2 separate regions of the Homo sapiens genome follow, and region 2 is linked to region 1. Evidence: promoter capture Hi-C in 16 types of primary human blood cells and fetal thymus (Javierre and others, 2016). All regions are on one chromosome and are shown on one strand. Each heading gives the region's core, a stretch centred on a gene start or on the middle of the fragment in contact. The rest is flanking DNA. Distances are from core to core; before and after follow the strand shown.

The links. Contacts are between HindIII fragments. The CHiCAGO score rates a contact against its expected background, and 5 or more counts as called.
Region 2: a fragment that was not itself captured here is called in contact with the fragment with the promoter of KRTAP5-5 in region 1 in 1 of 17 cell types (M0 macrophages); the score reaches 5.9 in M0 macrophages.

The regions. Positions count from the first base shown.
Region 1 is chr11:1,628,104-1,631,397 of GRCh38, forward strand. It overlaps KRTAP5-5 (keratin associated protein 5-5), which reads left to right and starts at 1,672. Exons shown (of 1, transcript NM_001001480.3): 1 at 1,672-2,827. The coding sequence starts at 1,738. The coding sequence ends at 2,451. The HindIII fragment of the contact is 5,409 bases long and covers 1-3,294 here.
Region 2 is chr11:71,560,389-71,563,682 of GRCh38, forward strand. No RefSeq gene overlaps it. Among named protein-coding and RNA genes, the nearest start is that of KRTAP5-10, 3.5 kb to the right of the region's middle. The HindIII fragment of the contact is 1,749 bases long and covers 628-2,376 here.

The DNA of each region.
Region 1 (3,294 bases), core at 422-2,921:
GATCCTCTTTGCCCAATTCAGCGAACCCGAAGGTCATCAATGGACCACGAAGAACAAAGGCCCATGAAAGGGAAGATGTTCCCAAAGTACAAAAGGAAAAGTCCTCTTGTACCCGAGGGAAGGAGCTGATCCAAGGGTGTCACTAGGAGTCAGCGCGGGTGTTGATACATTACTTCAGGGGCTGGAGGCAAATATACGAGGTACTGGAAGCAAATGTATCAAGCACTGGGACAAATGTATCAGGCGCTGGATGCAAATGTATCAGGCACTGGATGCGAATGTATCAGGCGCTGGATGCGAATGTATCAGGCGCTGGATGCGAATGTATCAGGCGCTGGATGCGAACGTATCAGGCGCTGGATGCGAATGTATCAGGCGCTGGATGCGAATGTATCAGGAAGCAAATGTATCTGTTGCCTCTGTTCCAGAGCTGGAGGATGCCGCCTCTGGTGGGGACAGCCAACACAAGGCGGCTCTCTCCTAATGGGTTTTCTGTTCCTCCCTGAGATACAGTCCCCTGCCCCAGAACAGAGTGGGGCTCCAGCATACACGGCAAGAGTCACCGAGTGCCAGCTGGTGTTTACACCGTGGCCTGAGGCCTGTTGACTGGGCTCGGGGCACTCACAGGTATTGTGGTCACGGGGGCAAATGGCCATCCGGTTCCCTGCTCTCCACCGGCTTTCTTTAGCATCCAGTGGGCCTGCACCCGAATGTAGTTGCTGCTTCCCAGGCTGAGCCCGGGACCCGGAGCAGGCGGGCACCCAGACAGGGCATCCTCTTCCGCTCACTGGCCCTGAAAGGGCCTCTGCCATCAGCCTGTGCCGCTGTCCGGGAGCCCCTGGGCCGGCCACGCAGTGGGGGAACCCGCTTCACAGCGACACCGTGCGGCGGCAGGAGGAACCGCTGCAGGAGACAATGCGATCTGGGTCCTGACCCAGCGCAGAGGCAGTGTCTGCCCCTTGCAATGCTTGGATTTCCTTCCTCAAAAGGCAGCCTTCGATGATCTGAAATTCAAGTTCCAGCAGGCATCCTGTACTGTATCTGTCAGCCCTGCCACCCGAGTGGTCTGAAAGCCCTGGAAGAGACCGCGGTTATCACAGGAGAACACTTTCCATGGGGAGCACGCAGCAAGCTCCAGAATAAGCGCTTAAAATCCCCGTCTCAGTCAACACTGCAAACCTTCCAACAAAGTCTTACACCGAAAACGACCCTGCTGAGCTGAGGGCTGAAGCCCCAGGTCCTGGGACCCTTGGAAACAGCCCGCGGGCCAGGAGCTGCTGTGGACCGTGAAGGTGTAGGGCCTAGGCACGTCCCAAGCAAGACACGATGCTCCCGCAGAGGAATCTTCCCGGGAGCAAGCCAGGAGTCCTGGGCTCAAAATCACCCTCGGCAAGACCAAGGCCTCTGAGCGAGCCACTGCCTGCCCATCGCTTCCTTCTTGTCACATGGAAAGGGAAACTCACCGCGGGGCCAGTGTTTACTGAGGGGCCGCTTCCATCACAGACCTGACAGCACATTCGAGAAAAGTGCGAGGAAAACAGGAGTTATTTATAAAAATGTAAAGCAGAAGAGAATACTGGGACCAGTGGCACAAGCAGGAACCAGGAAGTGACAGTGTGCCCAGCCTCTCACCTGACCCTGGACAGGGATATAAAGAGCCCGGGCTCAGGGGGCTCCACACCTGCACCTCCCTCTCACCTGCTCCTCTACCTGCTCCACCCTCAATCCACCAGAACCATGGGCTGCTGTGGCTGCTCCGGAGGCTGTGGCTCCGGCTGTGGAGGCCGTGGCTCCGGCTGTGGGGGCTGTGGCTCCGGCTGTGGAGGCTGTGGCTCTGGCTGTGGGGGCTGTGGCTCCGGCTGTGGAGGCTGTGGGGGCTGTGGCTCCGGCTGTGCGGGCTGTGGGGGATGTGGCTCCGGCTGCTGTGTGCCTGTCTGCTGCTGCAAGCCCATGTGCTGCTGTGTGCCAGCTTGTTCCTGCTCCAGCTGTGGCAAAGGGGGCTGTGGCTCTTGCGGGGGCTCCAAGAGAGGCTGTGTCTCCTGTGGGGTGTCCAAGGGGGCCTGTGGCTCCTGTGGGGGGTCCAAGGGGGGCTGTGGCTCCTGTGGGGGGTCCAAGGGGGGCTGTGGCTCCTGTGGGGGGTCCAAGGGGGGCTGTGGCTCCTGTGGGGGGTCCAAGGGGGGCTGTGGTTCTTATGGCTGCTCCCAGTCCAGCTGCTGCAAGCCCTGCTGCTGCTCCTCAGGCTGTGGGTCATCCTGCTGCCAGTCCAGCTGCTGTAAGCCTTACTGCTGCCAGTCCAGCTGCTGTAAGCCCTACTGCTGCCAGTCCAGCTGCTGTAAGCCCTGTAGCTGCTTCTCAGGCTGTGGATCATCCTGCTGCCAATCCAGCTGCTACAAGCCCTGCTGCTGCCAGTCCAGCTGCTGTGTCCCCGTGTGCTGCCAGTGTAAGATCTGAGGCTCTGACTGCAGACTGCAGGTGGCCTGACTGGTGAAGGGCCCGGCTGCCCAGCTTCCTTGCCCTGGGTTCTCTGGTGCTCCACTGTCTCCACTGTGTCCTCACTGGCTTCATCCACTCCACACCAGTGCTCCCGAAACTGACTGAGGACCCCTTCTGGCTCATTGCCTACTACTTCTCCTGAACTTCCTCTCCCTGCTCCTCACTCATTTAAGATCCAAAGCGGCCCACTGAGGCCCCAGAGGCAGATCAGACCCCTTAGACCCTGACAGCTGCTCCTTCTTTCAGGAGTGTGATCGACCCTCAATCTCTCTGGCTGTCTGTATATCAAGACTGAATCCTGACCCTCTAAATAAACAAAGTCTCTAAGCACAAAGCTCACTGTCTTGTGGTTCTCTCCTTCCCACCTCTCTCTCATTCCCAGAAGCACCATCTTCTTGCCTCCACCCCTGGGCCTGTTCCCATTTCTCTCCCCTCAGCATCTTTCATGTCATGGTCCATGTCTTCATGCACAGAACTAACGTCTATAGCTTTCTGCTCTGGGCCCCTTGTTGTGTTGGGCTCCAGAGATGACAGAGCAGAGTAAATCCAAGCTCACAGTCTGGTATGTGGGGAGAGGTGGGGAGAGGGAAAGGTGGTGAGGGCGGTGGTGTCAGCCGTGGAGGCACTGCCGTCCCGTGGGAGGGAGGGAAGCTCAGGGCCAGGCCACTTCAGCGGAAGGATGAGGAAGGGTCTGTATGCTGAGCTGTGCGGTACATCAGGCCCTAAGAAGCCCCTAGTGCATGCAGGAGCCAGACGTGGAGATGCGGAGGAGCTTGGGCTTATCTGCAATCTCACAGGGCC
Region 2 (3,294 bases), core at 252-2,751, about 70 Mb after region 1:
GAACTTTTTCTTCAACTTTTATTTGAGAATCAAGCAGTACATGTGCAGATTTGTCACATGGATATATTGTGTGATGCTGAGGTTTGGAGTAGTGACTGTAGTACCCAATAGTTTTTCAGCCCTTGCCCCCTCCCTCCTTTCCTCCCTCCTCTTGTTCCCCAGTGTCTATGGTTTTCATCTTTATGTCCATGTGGACTCAATGTTTAGCTCTCACCTATAAGTGAGAATATGTGGGATTTGGTTTTCTGCTTCTGCATTAGTTCTCTTAGGATAATGGCCTCCAGCTGCATATTGCCGCAAAAGATATTACTTCATTCTTTTTTATAGCTGTGTAGTATTCCATGGTGTGTATGTACCACATTTTCTTTATCCAATCCACCATTGATGGGCACCTGGGTTGATTCCACATCTGTGCTTCTGTGAATAGCACTGCAATGAACATATGGATGCATGTGTCTTTTTGGTAGATTGATTTATTTTCCTTTGGGTATATACCCAATAATGAGATTGCTGGGTCAAATAGTAGTTCAATTCTTAGCTCTTTGAGGAATCTCCAAACTGCTCTCCATGGTGGCTGAAATCATTTACACTCCCACCAACAGTGTACAACTGTTCCCTTTTCTCCCAAGCTTTGCCAGCATCTGATTTTTGGTTTGTTTTGTTTTGTGTTGTTTCATTTTTTATTTTTTATCAAAAGCCATTCTGACTGATATGAGATGGTATCTCATGGTGGTTTTGATTTACATTCCCCTAATAGTTAGTGATGTGGAGCATTTTTTCATATAGTTGTTGGCCATGTGCATGTCTTCTTTTGAGAAGTGTCTGTTCATATCCTTTACTCACTTCGTAATGAAGTTATTTGTTTTTTGCTTGTTGATTTAAGTTCCTTGTAGATTGCAGATATTAGACTTTTGTCAGATGCACAGTGTGTGAATATTTTCACCCATTTTGTAGGTTGAGTGTTGACTCCCTGATAGTTTCTCTTGCTGTGCAGAAGCTCTTCCGTTTAATTACGTCCCGCTTGTCAATTTTTGTTTTTGTAGCAATTGCTTGTGAGGATTTAGCCGTAATTCTTTTTTAACAAGGCTGATATCAAGAAGGTGATTTCCTAGGTCTTCTTCTAGGATTTTTATAGTTTGAGGTCTTACATTTCGGTCTTTAATCCATCTTGAATTAATGTTTGTATATGGTGATCTGGTTAGCGGCCCAGTTTTATTCTTCTGGATGTGGAACTCAGTAATAAAAAGACAAATAACCCAATTAAAAAGTGGGCAAAGAATCTTAATTAGACATTTTCTGAAGAAGATACCCAAATGACAACAAGCATATAAAAAGACTCTGAGCATCATGATTCAACAGGGAGATGCAAATTGAAATCACAATGAGATACCATTTCACAAACACTAGGATGAATATAATGTAAAAGGTCAGACATTAACAAGTATTGGGGCAGGGTGTGCTTGTACCTGTAATCCCAGTGACTCAGGAGGCTGGAAGGGAGGATCCCTTGGGGCCACGAGTTTGAGTCTAGTATGGGTATCATGGCAAGACCTTGTCTCTACAAAAAATTAAAAATTTAGCTGGGTGTGATGAGGCACAACTGTAGTCCCAGCTACTGGGGAGTTTGAGACAAGGATTGCTTGGGTCCAGGAGGTTGAGGCTGCAGTGAGCTATGATCATGACACTGCACTTCAGCTTTGTCAACACAGTAAAACCCTGTCTCTAAAAAATAAATAAATAAAAATAAAATAAAATAACAACTGTTGACAAGGATGCAGAAACACTGGAACCTCCATGCACTGCTGTGGGAATGTAAATTGCTCAGCCACTGTGGAAAACAGTCTGCAGTTCCTCAAAAACTTAAGCAGAGAGTTACCATAGGGCCCAGCAATTCTGCTCATAAGGATGTTCCCAAGGGAAATGAAAACACATTCCATGCAAAAACTGGCACACCCATGTTCACAGCAGCATTACTCACAACAGCCAAAAGGTGGAAACAGTCTAATGTCTGCCAACTGAGGAATGAATGGTGTATTCATACAAAGGAAGATTAGTGTAAATAATTTATCATAGTAATGAAGTTCTGTTTCAGGCTGCAACATGGATGAACCACAAAACATTACACTAAGTGAAAGAAGGAAATTATAAAAGACCACATATCATATAATTTCACAGGTATGAAATTTCAAGAATAGAAAAATAGAGAGAGACAAAAAGTAAATTAGTAGTAGCCTCTGGCTACTACTAATGTTACCCATTTATCAGACTCAGGTGAGACACTCACATATGTCACAGGAAGTGGGTATACCAGTTACAGACAGGCAGCAAGGGAGAACAGGAGCCTCGGATTCATTGGGAGCCCTCTAGCCTCAGCAAAGCTTCCCAGGTGAGCTGAGTCTTATCCATGTGTGCCCCACTCACACCACAGCTGAGGGATCCCAGAAAGCCGCCTGCCCTCGGTCTTATGTCCCAGGGCTACAGGATTCACTGCACTAAAGCACGAAAGAATATCCTGTTTCTAGGAACTGGGACAAAGCCCGACTCTTCTGGCCAGTCCCTCCCTAACTCAGGATGTTGCATTCCCAGCATATTCTACAGTTATTCTTTTTCTTTCTTTATTAATATTTTAATTGAAGCATGATCATTGTACATGTTTATGGGGACCAGTGAGATATCAACTTCTTTAGCTTGCACCTGTGAGTGAGATCATGCAGTTCATCTTTCTGTGCCTGGCTTATTTCATTTAGCATAATGTCCTCCAAGCTCACCTGTATTGTCACATAGGGCAGAATTTTGTTCTGCTCTAGGGTTAAATAGAATTCCATTGTGTGTATACACCATCTTTTCCTTTTCATTACTTTTCCATGTTTTCCATTCATCTGTTGACAAGCACTTAGGTGCTTTCATATCATGGCTATCGTGAGCAGTGCTGTGATAAACATGGGGTGCAGATATCTCTTCAACACACTGATTTCTTTTCCTTTGGATACACACCCCATAGTGGGATTGCTGGGTTAGCTCTATTTTTAGCTTTTTGAGGAATCTCCATACAGTTTTCCTTAGTGGTTGTACAACTTCCCACTAACAGCATACGAGTTCCCTTTCTTCACTTCCTCTGCAGGATTTATTTTTGCCTTTTTGATAATGGCCATTCTGTGGGATGAGAGGACACCTCATTGTGGTTTTGACTTGCGTGTCCCTGATGATGAATGATGCTGAGCATTCCTTCAAGCTCTTGTTGGTCATTTGTACGTCTTCTTTCAGAAATGTCGGTTCAGCTCCCTCTGCAGTCAC